Regions from separate parts of the Homo sapiens genome. Here region 2 is linked to region 1. Evidence: promoter capture Hi-C in human tissues and cell types (Jung and others, 2019). All regions are on one chromosome and are shown on one strand. Each heading gives the region's core, a stretch centred on a gene start or on the middle of the fragment in contact. The rest is flanking DNA. Distances are from core to core; before and after follow the strand shown. Region 1 holds the start of CSNK2A3 (casein kinase 2 alpha 3). Region 2 overlaps GALNT18 (polypeptide N-acetylgalactosaminyltransferase 18).

Region 1 (7,755 bases), core at 1,801-4,300:
GGGTCAAGTTAGAGGGGCAACAGTAATGTGTCATTCTCAGCAAACTGGCCCATCCCATACAGGGGGCCTGGCTTTTCCTTGGACCCAGTGCTCTGCCTATAATGACTGGGCCACAGGAGTTCAGGGAAGGACATTCCAGGAGGACTGCTTTGCAAATGTGTGGTCATTGAGACTAGAAGTTATCTTTAATGGTTCTGACCAAGAAGGGCTTATTCGTGGTTACCTCAAATCTCATATCAGCCAACAGGCCTGATTACTATTGTTCAAACTCAGGCCAGATGGGACTCAAGACAAGTTGGAAAAAGGAAGACGTCAGGCTCTGACATACAGGGGTTGGGAAACTGAGCCAGGAGTAGAGTGGTCTCCAAAGGTGTGGCAGAGACCCCTATTGCTCACTGACACCTGGGTGCTCCTCCATATTTCCCTGCACCCCTTGCAGTCAGGAGGGTGCAAATCGATGAGATGAGAGAGGACATGGCCTCTGCCACTTCCCGGGGAAGGCAGGTGACTATCCAGTGTGTCTCCTTAGGTGCACTTCTACTCCCCACCCCACCATCTGCTGGATGTTTAAGCCAGGGTGAACTTGAAGTTCAAAGATGCTGAACCCACAAGAGAAGCAATCAGAGTCCCCAAGTCACTACTTGGAGAAAAGCTGCACAGGAGAGCCTCCCAGCCAGCCTTCAGGGGACTGTGTGAGCAAAATAGGACATTTCCTGGGTAACCTCTATTTCCAGCAGTTCTGAGAGCTGCTGTTTCAGTCTGTGATGCTGCCAGTATGTAAAGAGGCAAGGTGACCAAAGAGGCATGGTCCCTGCAGGCACCAGTTTCCAGAGGTTCAATCTATTGTGTGGGGCTCATATGAGAAAGCTCCAGGTATAGGGACAGATGGAGTGTCTGGAAGGTGACCGCTTCCCAATTCCAGCTGATGAGTTCATTCAAAGCAGTACCCCACTAGAGGCTGAGGATGCAGGGAGCAGATCTAGCCCCAAGGGGTGAGAGAGGGAGCTGCAAGGGGCAGGCAGGACATTTGGACTCCTGCACATCGGGCTGCTGTGAGAGTTTGGTTCAAACTCAGAACCAGAGCAGAGGGCAGGAAACCAAGGGTGAAGCTAGCCAGGGTGGTAGAGGAAAGGTCCAGGTTTGAAGATGACATACAGCTCCAGGTTCCTTGGAAAGCCACAGACAGAAGCCCTGTGGCAACTCCACTTACGCAAGAGGGAGCCAGCTGGTGAGGCCAGGGCTGCAGCCAGACTCTTCCAACCCTTGTAAGGGGACACAAAATCTAGAAGGATCTGACCCTCACAGCTTCCCGATGCACAAGGCTGGGAAGGTAAGCTAGTTCAAGTCCAGGCATATCTATGGAACCAAAACCCTATAGAAGCCCCAAACTCAGAGACAGAAGTATTAGCAAGTTCCAAATCAGGGTCCCATTGACACCTGCGCTATCTACTGTAATCACTTCTTTGTTTTGAAATAGGATCTCTGGCCCCCATTACTGTCACTGGTGCTGCCAGAGAATGACAATGAGCTTAAATGTCATAGGGATTTGGGGAGCAATTTTCTTTTTTTTTTTTTTCAGCCTATTATAATTTTTTTTTATGACTGAACTACTATAAATCCACAAGCAACGGTTCAGACACGTTGCTTCTGAAGTGTTTCACCCCTCCCCGCCAGGCGCAAGCTGCATCAAGGAGGGGGTGGACTCCCCCACCTCTGCTCAGGCATCAGGAGACAGATAGGGCCGTTACTGCTGAGCGCCAGTGGCAGCTGGAACAGGCATCCCAAGGGGGTTGGCAGCAGCAATCACTGGTGAGCCTGCCAGAGGTCCAAGGGGTGAAGGAGTTGGCACTGAAGAAATCCCTGACATCACATTGGCGCTGCTGACGGGCGTACTGCCCCCTGGCATGCTAGATGAACCCATTCGAGCCTGGTCCTTCACAACAGTGTAGAAATAGGGGTGCTCCATGGCCTCTCTTGCAGTAAGCCGTGACTGGTGGTCATATCGCAGCAGTTTGTCCAGGAAATCCAAGGCCTCAGGGCTGACAAGGTGCTGATTTTCACTGTGGACAAAGCGTTCCCATCGCTTTCGAGAGTGTCTGCCCAAGATATCATTGAAACGTGGATCTAATTCAATGTTGTATTTGTCAATATAGCCATATAAATCTTCTGTCCCCAGAAACTTGGCTATCCTCACCAACTGATCATAATTGTCACGTCCATGGAAAAATGGCTCCTTCCGAAAGATCATACTTGCCAGCATACAACCCAATCTCCACATATCCAAACTATAATCGTACATCTGATAGTCTACAAGTAGCTCAGGACCTTTGAAGTATCGGGAAGCAACTCGGACATTATATTCTTGGCCAGGATGATAAAACTCAGCCAAACCCCAGTCTATTAGTCGTAGCTTTCTGTGCTCATGATCAATCATGACATTATGGGGCTTGACATCTCTGTGCATAATTCCCATGCTGTGACAATAATCCAGGGCCTTCAGAATCTCATACATGTAAAATCGAATATCATAGTCTGTTAACGTCTGGTACAATTGCTTGAAGTCTGTGTTGTTTACGTGTTCAAAAACCAAGGCGGGGGTTCGTGACACAGGGTCTTTTACAATGTCTGCCAGTGTGATGATGTTGGGACCTCCTCTCAAATTCTCCAAAATCTTTATTTCACGCTTAATTTTCTTCTTTTTTACTGGCTTGAGAATTTTAACAACAACTTTTTCATTATTTGTGATGTTGATGGCTTCAAATACTTCACTGTATTTACCTCGGCCTAATTTTCGAACCAGCTGGTAGTCATCTTGATTTCCCCATTCCACCACATGTGACTCGTAATCCCAGTATTCTCGAGGTCTGTGTGTATTAACATCTGTGTAAACTCTGGCCCTGCTTGGCACGGGTCCCGACATGTCAGACAGGTTGGCGGACAAAGCTGGACTTGATGTTTGGAGATCTGGCAGTCACTGTGTTCAGAAGCAGCTTGGGGGTAAGACCTTGTTTCAGACCTGTTTTCTTCACACTGTGGTGGAAGCGGCAGCGGCTGTGGCCGCTCTCCCTTCTGCTCACACAGACAATATGGCGGCGATGGAGTGGGGAGCAATTTTCTAAAATCCAAATAAAAACCTTCCCATCTCTAATCTGAGAGTCATTTTTATCAGCTAACTGGGCTCATCTATTTACTCAGCATATTCAGAGCCCTTTTTGGGGGTTAAGTCCCTTTCAATTGCTGTGAGGCACCGTCTCCTTGTGGACATGCTTGTGCTATCCAGCTGCTATTCAAAGCACATCTCCTGGACCATGTTTAATTTATACTTTCCTATATGAAGATGAACCACTTACTCACTTAAAGTATTTCTTTTTTTATGTCTCTAATCAGTGGCTGTTTCTTTCCTCTCTCTGAAGCTTAATCGAATCAGAAACAAATCCCACACATATGAATGGCTCATTAGCATGTCCCAGTCAGATTCAAATTGGCCGTCCATACCAGATGCCCCCAAAAGGATAACACTGGCCCAAAGAAGGACTCTTTAAACGAGTGTCCAAAGGGTGTTGCCATGATAAGCCAGGAGGGTTCTTTCTGAAATCCAGGGTAGATACACTCTGTCATTCCCAGCACCATAGAGCCAACTGATGGCAGGTAATGGATGTGTCATTGAGATGGGGTTGGTGGGAGGCAATGTGGCCAAGCCTGGGGAGCAGACATCAGAGGAATGTCTGGTGTCTATGTGTCTGGCTCAAGCATCATCCTCACACTTGGCTCAGTGGGGCCCTTTTATCAAATGATACAAATGAGGCTGAGATGCTGAACATTCTCTCGCTCAGAAATGATATTTGTTCTAAAGAGCTTCCCCTCTTAATCAAATGAAACTCAGATTATAAACACTGGTATGCTACATCTTCTCTTAAAGGATTTGCTCTTTTCATAGACATCAGAATGAATCGTCAGCATGGGCATCATCACTGGTGTCATCTCTGAAAGTCACCGATAGCAAACTCTCATTTAATACAGATTTACAAAAGAGATCAGCATACTGCAATAGAGTAGAACTGAAGGGAACCTAACCAGGACCTCCCTTCATTTCCCAGGTGAGCAAACTAAGGTTCAGGGTCACAGGATAATTTAGAAGCACAGTAAGATATGGATCCAAGAGCCTGCCTTTTGGAAGACAGGAAGTCATTATGGTTCAGAGCATAGCCTCTGGGGCCAAACAGTCTTGGTGTCAAGTCCTACATTTCCCATTTGCTGAACTGGTGACTTTAGGCAATTCACTTCACCTTCCAACACTCAGTTTCCTTGTCTATGAAATGGAGATAAAAGTGATAAATTCCAAAGATAGTTGCTGTGAGAATTAAATGAAGTAATACACAGAGACAGTTTATTTCATCACCTGGAAGAAGTTTAGAGGCCCCTAAGTATCAGCTATAATTATTATCACTATAATATTCCACTGATGATAAGATTCACTATTGCTATACCACAGCTTTTCGGGACAGGGGAAAACACACTACATTCCTCTGAGCTCAAGATTTATATACCCAAGTGCCTACGTCTCACCTTCACTCTCATGTGTCTCAGGCATCTCAACCTTACCATGTCCAAAACGAAGTTCCCGATTTTCTTCCCTGCCTCCCCATCTGTCCCTTAGTCTGCCCCTCATCCATCTAATAGCCGAAGCCTGTAACCTGTAATTCATCTGTAGCAATGTCTTCTTCCTCCCTCTCCACATCCAATACATCGGCAAAAGCAGACAGTTCTACCTCCTAAATATAGCTTGAATTTAATCACTTCTCTCCATCTGCACAGCCAACATCCTGGTCCAAGTCCCTATTATTTTTGTGTGGGCATCTCCATCCAGAGCCTCTTCCCTGGTCTTTCTGCGTTGTCGTGTTGCCCTTCAATCCGTATTGCCCTCCAATCCACTTTTTAAAATTATACATCAGAGCATGTCCCTCCTCTGCTTTAATGCAGTTCAGCAATTATTTACTGAGCACTTACTATGTGCCAGTCTTTGTTGTAGGAGATGGGAATCTTACCACAGAACAAAATATAAAAAATCCCTGACTTTCTGATACTTACACTGTGTTTTTTCTGTTACAGCACTCCCTATGGACTGAATTGTCTCCCCCTTCCTCAAATTCATATGCTGAGGCTGTAACTCCCCATGTGACTATATTGGAGATGGGGCATTTAAGGAGGTGATTAAACATGCACAAAAAATTCTCAGTAGAATGACCATATGTTCTGGTTTGCTGGGGACTATTCTGGTTTATACCTAGTGTTCCACTGTTATTAGTAGCACCCCCTTTCACTCGCAAAAGCTTCTAGTTTGGACAGTAAATTAAAATTTATTTACATATTTATTATTTATTTATATATGCCAAATGTATAAGGTCCAACCTGATTTTAGAAACACTGAAATCCCAAATAAGTATCTGTCTTAAAATCATGGTCTTACTAATCTTTTCCCTCCCCTAGTCCATGATTTCTCTATATTACTACAATCCTAGTGTGGTGAAAATTAAGCAAGTCATCAAGACCCTCACCTCCTGATGTGCAGCATTTGAAGCAGGCCTGAGGAATAAAACAGAGCACCCCACCATTCAGTGCTCCAGAGACCAGAGCCCTGTCTCTTGAACTTTCCCAAACTAGACAGACAGAAAGAGAGAGAGGCAAGACCTAAAGGAGTGAATGGTGTTCCTGGGCCATTTACACCAGGGGTTAACTCTTTATTTTCAGGACTGACTTTGTATACAGGTAGGCTTTGTTTTATAGAAAAACTTGTGTGCAGGGGTAATTTCTGGATACCAAACTTTATAGAAAAACTTGTGTGTAAGGGTAATTTCTGGATACCAGCACCTACAGCACTAGAAAAAAATGTGCTCACAGGTACCCTGCCCTTTGCATTGCTTTACAAAGCCAAGAACATTTGTATTTGGAGATGCCCCTGACCCCTCCTTCTGCAACTTCAGATTTATGAATATCGGATCTTGTCCAAGGAAAACCACAGCAGTGTCAGAGGAGGAGGAGAAGGAACCCTTGCTCAGTTTGTGGCAGTTCTTCTGAGGAAATGATTCTGGCCTTGCTTGGTGGTCTCTTCCAGGAAAACTAGAATAACAATGTAATGGTGGCCAAGAAGCTACCTTCCAGGGTCTGATACCGACCAGCATGCAGACTCAGCTAAAGAAGAACAAAGAACAAAAATGGAAACAAAAGGGAGACAGAAAATGACTCTGGGGAGCTTTAACATACATTGTGAGCTTCCAGGTTTCTTTGGCTTTTGTTTTTGCTTTTTTCCAAAATTCAGGAAATTAAACATTGATACATGACTATTATCAAATCCCCAGTCTATAATCAAAGTTCACCAATTGTCCCAATCAAAGCCTTTATAGCTATTTTTCCCCTTCATCCAAACTTTTTAAGAAGGTAAAAATTTCCTTCAGGTTGACTCCCCAAATCCTTCATCAATTGTTACCTCGTTTGTGCATGTTATTAATCTCTCTTTTATACAGCTCCCTCATTGAATGCAATTGAAAAAACCAAAGTGTGAAGACCATTCCTGAGTAAAATTGTTCTTGGGCACTCTCCTTCTGCTCCCCACCATTTCTAGCTAATCACTTCATTATGTACTTTTTAAATTGCTTTGTTCTGTAGGGATTAATTTTGCACTTATCTTCACTAACCATAAAACTTTTACAACGTACTTTTAAACTGCGTCTACTCAGCTGCTGGTTTGTAATTGCAAAGAGTCACTCCACGGCTGGCTGGTGTGCTAGGGGATAACACGCAATAGCCACGGAGCTTCCTGCTCCATGTTTTCAGATGCCTTCCTGGAGCCGCTGGGTATGGGGCAGACCAATTGGTTCTAGACTGGCTGCTTGGGGTACCGAAATGTCCTTGTATATGGAAATCACCAGCTAGGGAACACCCTCAAATCGCAGATGCTTTGGCCTCAGAGGCCTCAGGTTGCTCCGACCTCAAAGACCTTGGGAATTTCAGGCCCTACAGTTCCCAGGAGAAGGTCTGTCTACAGCTGACCACCTAGAAGGCAACAAAATTTCAACTACTCTCTCAAGGTCAAGTCTGTACTTTCTCAAGGCTCAGGCACTTGCCCTCTGCCTGCAAGCAGGCACTAGATTCCCAGTCTTCAAGGAGTCCCTCTGCCTCCCTTTCTGGTCAAATACAATCTCCAAGGAGTCCCTCTGCCTCCCTTTCTGGTCAAATACAATCTCTAAACTCTCCGCCTTCCATCAATCTCCACCCACTCCCTCCTTAGACCTTTGAAATCTGTCTTCTATCACTTCCCCTTGACTCCAACTATTCCCCCCAAAGCCTTCTTATGGCTGTGTCTAATGCCTTTTCTCCACTTGCTTTCTCAGAGCACAGGCTGTTGGTTCACAGGCTTTGGACAGAACTGTGTTTAAATCCAGGCTCCTCCACTTTTTCTCTTGGGACCAGGGCAAGTTCCTTAACTTCTCTGAGCCTCAGTGGCCTCATCTGTAAACCGGTGACAGTAATTCTGGTTTCCTGTGATTCTTGGGAGGGGTAAATGACATACAGCATAAAACTCACTAGAATATAAGTTCTATGAGGGCAAACCTAAGTTATCTCATTCATCACTGCATATCCAGTGCTTGGCCCAGCATCTAGAATGGTAGGTGCTTTATAAATATTTATTGAATAAATGCACTAAATACAAAATAAATGTTCAACAAATGGTAGCTATTATCATTAGTATTCATGTTT
Region 2 (7,755 bases), core at 2,525-5,024, 160 kb after region 1:
GAAAATAACTCCAAAGACCCAAGGAAGGTACAGCCCTGGTATCCTGGAAAATGTGCAGCTGCTGAGGAGGGTAGAGAGTTGGCCATGGAAAATGGCCAGCCTGTCCTCTCTCAGATAATCCTATGTCCCTTCCCAAACCACATTTTCACTTCTTCATCTTCCACAGTAGATGCCCCAGACAAGAAAAAGTACAGGACAAAACCCTTCAGGGTCGCTCCCAATAGAAAGAGCACCTGCAAGAAAGTTACTCTCTGGCAGAACACATTCCTTGTACACTGGGAACCTGAAAATGTGGGCAAACAAACAGAGGTGAAAGTGATCTGTGAGTTGGTTGGCTTCCTTGGCACTGTTATTCAGGATCATCACTTGGACACTACTGTTAAGTGAATAAGGAGTGAATTAATAAATGAATTTTTCTATTGTTAGAATTTCCACTTTTTAAGTCTCTCATTCATTCTAAACAAAAGGAGAAATCATTGAAACAAATATTGACTGAAGACTTACTTTATATCAGGAATATTTAATTATCATAAAAACCCACCAATGGAGATATGATTTTCCCTATCTTAGAAACATGGAAGCTGAGTCTCAGAGGAAAATTCTGAACTGAGTCAGTCTCCCAAACACAAGCCCCAGTGCATTTTCCTTTTTATTTTTCCTCCTCCTTCTCTTCTTCCTCCTCTCCCACCTCTTTCTTTTCCTCCTACTCTTCCTCTGCTTTAATCTCTTCCTTTTCCTTCTCCCCTTCCTCTTTCTTTTCTTCTTCCCCTTCCCTAACTTTTTAGTTCTTACATAGATCCAAGCTTTATATGCACAAAGATTAAAGTGTGAAATATTTCTACAAACCTTATAAAACATATATATTCCCTTTCTATAGGAGTATCCTGCTCCACCTCTGTGATGGTTAATATTTCATGTCAACTTGATTAGATTGAAGGATGCAAAGTGCTGATCCTGGCTGTGTCTGTGAGGGCATTGCCAAAGGAGATTAACATTTGAGTCAGTGGACTGGGAAAGGTAGACCCACCCTCAATCCGGGTGGGCCCCATCTAATCAGCTGCCAGTGTGGTCAGAATAAAAGCAGCAGAAGAACCTGGAAAGACTACACTGGCTTAGTCTCCCAGCCTACATCTTTCTCCCATGCTGGATGCTTCCTGCCCTTGAACATTGGACTCCAAGTTCTACCTTCGACCACAGACTGAAGGCTGCACTGTTAGCTTCTCTACTTTTGAGGTATGACGGCATTATTGTATATTACCATAATACCATATGATACCCAAGAAATTTAACATTGATAGACCTATTATCTAATATACATTCCATGTTTAAACTTTCCCAATTATCCAATCATGTCCTTTATAGCTCTTTGTTCATTTTCTGATTCATAATCCAATCTGAGCTCAAGCATTGCATTTGCTTGTTATATATCTTTTTGGTCTCCTTTGGTCTGGAACATTCCCTCTACACACATATACCCTTTTTTGTTTTTTAAATCATTGACATTTTTAGAGGATACGCTATTTGAGGTAGGAGATCTTATAATGTGAATGTGTCTGATTAATATCTCTTTATTAGATTCAGGTCAAAGATGTTTGGCAAATACTACATAAGTGATGTTGTGCTCATCCCACTGCACTCCATCAAAAGCCACATAATGTCAGTTTGCCCCATTATTGGTAATTCTAAGTGTGGTCACTTGATTAAGGTGGCATCTGCCATATTTCTCCATCGTAAAAGTACTTCATTCGTTTGTAATTAATAAGTAATGTGTGGGTGTTACTCCAAGGCCATGTGAATATCTGCTTCCCCAAATTGTTGTTGTTTTTTAGTCGCTGCAATTATTGTAATCCCTCCCTTACAGATTCAAGCAGTAATCAGAAGACAGAGGCATGGTCTTCATTCACTTCACTCTCTCTGCAAATCCCATTTGGCACTGGTTAATGATAATGAAGCCTTTGGCACTTTTTTCCTATAGATGCACTTACAGGATAGAACTCCATTTCTAAAATGCATTCCACCAAAGCACAGTGAAAGCAATTACCAATACTCAATTACTCCAGCTTCACTCCATCACTGTAGATACTCTTAAATGCTATGCAAGGGTGGTTTTGAATATCCTGAATGTGGAAATTGGTTTACAATAACAAAGAGAGGCTCAGAAATCTTTGATGGCTCCCAAGAACTACCCGATACAACCCAAACTCCTTATCTGGCACTCAGGCTCAACCAGATCTGGCCCCAGCTCCCACCCCTCTCCCATGACTTCCCTACCTCTCGGACCAAACTGAACTTTTCTCTTCTTCTTCTACACCCCCATGCTTTTCCCTTGCCCATTCTGAATCCTCTGTCTTGAATGCCCTGATTCTCATCTTTCACAAGTGTTTGCTAAAGAAAAGAAAAAAAAAAGCTTCCTCCTTTTCTGACTTCTCTTAATCTGTGACAATTAGGGCCCTTGGTATCTAAATGGCACACTGAGCTTGTTTTCAGAACATCAGTGAAGTTCTAATACCAAAATATTTTTGAAACAATTTGATATCCAAAGAAAGATTTTTTAAACATTTAAGTAGTTATCATGGGAACAATTAGAACTGCTGGAATTGTTTTTATATATTCATAATTTAATATATTTTTATTTTGCATTACATTCAGGAAAGAGGGGAAGGGAGCACTGTGATTCTTAGGACCCAATACATCTTAATCTAGCCTTGGGTGAAAACTCTAAGAACAGAATTGGTGTTATTTCTCCCCTAGCCCCAGGCCTAGCATCATGTGCTATGCATGGTAACTGCTCAATAAGTAGTTACTGAACAATGGAGAGAAAGCTTGGAGTCACATCAATTGTTTGTGCTCCTTTGAAGACGGAATGACTTTCCCCCCTCTCCATGCCTCCAGTCATTTCTCCCTCAGCACATCTCATCAGAAATAAATAGAGGCCTCAGCCCTTTGTGCCTAGCCACTGGCAGAGAGCAGAGGACTGGCCACAGGCCTTTGGCCACATGCTGGCATATCTGAATTCAAGACCTTCACTGCCCTGTGATTAACACATGCGCTACTCCATCCTCTGTGGGAAACTGAAAGATCCTGTTCATGGTGACAATTGGAGAGCAATCTCCCTTCTTTGGCTATATCTGGGGTCACTCCCAGCACCACGCAGAAAGAGTATTTGTATAAGACACAGCATCGGTGGTCACATCCTCTGAGAAGCCTTCTGAGGGCAGGACCTTCCAGCAGAGCACCCAAGGTCCCTGGTTACAGCATCAGAACACTCCAGACACTTCACTATGGCCCAGTGAGTACCAACTACATGCAGATGCTGGCCACAGCATGGAAAACTCAACACAAGGGAAGACTCAGCTGCAGCCCAAAAGGAGCATTACCACCAAGTCACAGAGACCACGCTGATGGATCTGAAGCACCCAAGATTCACACAAGGCAATGTGACATGAAGGGTGTGGAAAGCCTCACAATAGGAAAACCACCTTTAATGGGAGCCCATATTTTGCCTGGCACTAAAGTACACAAACTATTTTAACATCTGCTGTCTCAGTATACTCTCCCAGGGGCCCTGTGAGAAGGGCAGGTCAGAAGCATTAAATATGAAACCAGGTAAAGCTCCCTACCCTGGGTCGTCTCTGTGATAAGGCCTCACCATGTTCCAACCTCTATTCAGGTCACTTCTGCAAACCTTCCATGAGTACAGCTCATTTCCAGGCCTTGTACCAGGCACTGGGCATGCAGAAAGTCCCTTAGAACACAAACTATATGCAAGGCACTCATGCCTTTAGAGATGCATTCCCTGCATTGGTGGTATAGTGGTGAGCATAGCTGCCTTCCAGAGATGCATTTCCTGGGTCTAACCTGGGGCTCAGTGCAAGAAATAGAAATGAAGGTGCCTGCCTTTAAGGAGTTATCCAGCTACTGTGCCACTTTTCACACCACCTTGTGTGACCTGTTGGCCCATCTATCTTTTCTTCTAGGCTGTGATCTTCTCTAGAAAATGGGATCTCTGTGACTCCAGGGCAAATCTCAGGGCTGGGCACATTGCAACATCATTTCAAAGCCAGGCTTCTGTGATAGTGGACAGTCCCAGAGCTCAGCCCTATATATGCATTCGCTGAGCTCCATCCTCAGGCTTTCAGGCTGCAGGCCTTCCTGACCCAGACTTCTGTGTACCACCTCTACATGCCTCTCTGTAGCTCTAACATGAGGATGGTGCCCGGACAGACACAACCGGCACTCTTTCCTCTCGGCGGGGCGTGCAGCTGGTACCGCCTTCCACTTGACTCCTGACAAAGACATGCAGCCTGCCAGGTGATGCAAGAGAGGGCCAGGCTGCAGCTGAAGGCCTTCTCTCCCGGGGGTTGTAAAAACAGGCTGCCCCTCCTTTTGGACTGAATGAGGTTTCTCGCTGTGAATAATGGCATTGAAGTATTCAAGGGCTGCATTCAGGAGCTGAATCATGGAATCCCAGCCAAAGAATCTGCTGAAGACTGAAGGGACCGGCTGTCCAGCTTCACGCAGGGAGGGCTCCTTGAAGCTAATTACTGCCACCAGGCCCTGGTCTCAGACCTTACACACTGGTCTGCAAAGAGCTACAGCTCAAGGTTGCTGTGTCCCCGCAGCCAAGGCTGAAGCATGACCTAGCCAGTCCCCTACAGCTAACAGAGCGACCCCATACATGTGATCCCCAGAATAGGCCCCAGACAATCCTGAGGAGACCTGGCTAATGCAGTGGTTCTTTACTTCTGAGCCACTCACCCCTCAGAAAATCTGAGAAAAGGCTTGGACTATCTCTCCAGAAAATGCATACATGTGCACACTGTGTTATGGAATGAAAGCTTCTGTTTCCACTAAAATTGATAGGTTGGAACCTAATCCCCAGTGTGATGATGTTTGAAGGTAGGGCCTTTGGGAGGTGATTGGATCATAAGGGTGGAGCCCTCATCAATGGTATATTGGTGCCCTTCTAAGAAGAGGCCAGAGAGCTCTCCCAGTCTCTTTTTGCCATGTGAGGATACAATGAGAAGTTGGCAGTAAACAACCCAGAAGAGGGCCCTCACCAGACCCGGACCACACTGGTACCCTGATCTGGGACTTTCAGCCCCCAGAACTATGAAAAATCAATTTCTGTTGTTTGTAAGCCATCCACTCTATGGTGCTTTGTTACAGCAGCTCAAACTGATCAACACATATACATATGTATATGTATGCATACCATCATATGTATACACATGTCTACATATATACACACATACATATGTTTACATGTATACATATACATACACAGAGTTACTCCCATAATTTTTACACATTCACAGATTCCCTAAAGCCCATCCAGAAGTCTAAGTTAAGAATTCTTTATTAAAGTCACCAAAGACGAAAGCCAATTTTTCCATCTGAAACCGCCTGCCCCCATGGGTTCAGGGCTGAGCCGTGTCTCCTGGGCAGGAGTAAAGGGTGAATTTAGCCCTAGGTCCAAGTGGCATGTGACCTCACACACAGTGTGGAGAGCAGTCTGTCTCATGATGGCCTGGCACTCTTGACCCCATCTCACAGCTGTCAGACTCCGCCTGACCCAGATCCGCCAGGAGGACAGACTGTTTTTCCTTGTGGAAATAGTTCATGGTGCTTGTCATTTACAGATTCTCTCTGGATTTCACTCAGAGATGGAGGAAAGCATCCAATCCTGTGGAAATTCTTTATTCTGAGTGCGGCAAAGAATTAGGAACAAGATGTGAAAGGGGGTCTGACCCTTATTCTCACATATATGGGGACACACACAGGTACACACACATAGTTTCTTTCTGAGCCCAGTGCTGTGACAGTAAATCAGCCATATCTACATTATAGCTCAGCCCAGCTCAGACCTTATCCAACCTAATTTTAGTGACAGGTTCTTCATCCAAATTGGCAGTTTGCACAGGGACTGTGTTTAGAAGGTGCTACGGAGAGTCTGGCGGCACCTGAGGCCTGGGCTCGTTATGTGCCTTAACACAGTGGTATTACCATGCTCTGCTACTCTCCTAACCCATCTATCACATGGACACCAGGACACACGGGTGCTGCCTAGAAAAAGGATGCCTCTCGACAAAGTCCCATAATGACACTAACTCCTCTCATCACTCAGGTGGCCCGTGTGTGTGATCTGTGTGTGTGTCTGTGTGCGTGGTACCTGTGCGTGTGCATCTGTGTACTTACACATACAGGCATGAAAACAGAAAAGGCACTGGATATTAAGTACAGATGAGACTCCATGTAGATTTCCCAACAGACAGACCCAGAACAACAGGCACCCCTCCCTTCTGGACCACAGAAATACATCTAGGGGAGAAAAGGGCAGCTGGATGAAGATGAGCTTGTAGTGTGGAGTCACGGACACTCAGACCTGGGCTCAAGTCCAAACTTGAGTGCTCACTCCCTGTGTGACCTTAGGGAAGGCACTGCATGTCTCTGAGCCTCAGTTCTTCTTCTGTAATATGGGAATCATAAACCTCCCTCCAAAGGCTGGCAGCAACAGATACGAGGCTTGAAGAAAAGGAATTAGCACAGTGCTTGGCACATTGCAGAGGGTTGATAAACATCAGTTGACTTCCTGTCCCTTGCTCTGTTCTGAGCAACTCCTGATTGAATCATTTTGGGAGAATCTGACTCTGGTTTTTCAACCCTCCACTGGCCACAGGGTCTATCTCTTTCAAAGACGTGGGTTGTCCTTCCACATCCCACAAGAAGCTGAGATTGGCACATCTCAAAGAGGACTTAGGCAATAAAACTAATAAAGCTGTGCTTCCCAGAATGGAAAGCCTTGCCCCATACCTCTGCATTATGATTGAACTTTGTCTTCTCTGCCAAGCCTCAAGCTCCTGTTTTTCAAGTAATCCAATCTGTTTTGTTCAAGACAAAGGACAAGAGGATTTTATGGAATGAGAAGTCAGTTTATTTCCCGGGACGTTTACATAGGTCACAGTAAAACAGTTTTATGTCTCCAATGACATTTCTTCTGGGACTGTTCAGGGGGAACATAATTTATTTATTTATTTTTTTTGTAAAGCTTTAAAGGTGGTTGTTCTTTTGTTGTAAGTGGGACTGAAATGTGTTTCTAGGCAGCTACAGGGAACTCACTCTGATGGGACTTCTAGGAAAAAAGGCACAAGGCTTGAATGGGTCACGGGTGGAAAATGGGGCAAACTACTGGTGAGCAGCTCAGACCCTGAGTGCTGGTTCCCCCCAAGGGCCAGGAGAAGCCACTGGGAGTGAGGGGACCCTGTTGCTGTGAGATGCCTTGTGATTACAGAGGAGGAGGCTGGAACAGAGAAGGGGGCTTTCTAAAATACGCTCACTTAAAGAGAAACTTGGACCCAAACCCATCCAATGATTCCCACATCACAGAAGAGGAAACTGAGGCTCAGAAACATGAAGTCACTTATCTAAGTCACACAGGGAGTAAGTGTTGGGGCCTATGCTTAAACCATATCTAGGTACTGGAGCTCCAAAACCCATGCTTGCAATTGCCTGCCCCAGGCTGGCCCTGCAGGGAAATCCCCTCTGAGTTGCAGGCAGAGGCTCCCCATTTGGAATAGCAGAAATGCTTTCCTTTACACAGCAGAATTCCTGAAGCCACCTCCAAGGAAGCAGCCTCCCTGAGCACTCCCCTTGTAATGACAATGGATGGCAGGCCTCCCTTGTGGCCAAGGGTCACCAATCCTGGCATCTCTGAGCGTGAATAAGAACAGCTGTTACACAGAGGAATCAGTTTTC

The links. The method cuts DNA at HindIII sites, captures the fragments that hold promoters and counts their contacts. A contact is called where the count stands out against the background at its distance.
Region 2: a fragment that was not itself captured here is called in contact with the fragment with the promoter of CSNK2A3 in region 1 in 3 of the 25 tissues and cell types used here (dorsolateral prefrontal cortex, hippocampus and pancreas).

Annotation. Positions count from the first base shown.
Region 1 is chr11:11,350,200-11,357,954 of GRCh38, forward strand. It overlaps CSNK2A3 (casein kinase 2 alpha 3), which reads right to left and starts at 3,051. Exons shown (of 1, transcript NM_001256686.2): 1 at 1,743-3,051. The coding sequence starts at 2,920. The coding sequence ends at 1,745. All of the region lies in intron 6 of GALNT18 (polypeptide N-acetylgalactosaminyltransferase 18), which reads right to left. The HindIII fragment of the contact is 7,765 bases long and covers 1-4,371 here.
Region 2 is chr11:11,506,766-11,514,520 of GRCh38, forward strand. All of the region lies in intron 1 of GALNT18 (polypeptide N-acetylgalactosaminyltransferase 18), which reads right to left. Among named protein-coding and RNA genes, the nearest start is that of GALNT18-AS1, 59 kb to the right of the region's middle. RefSeq lists an enhancer at 2,570-3,071. The HindIII fragment of the contact is 4,338 bases long and covers 1,606-5,943 here.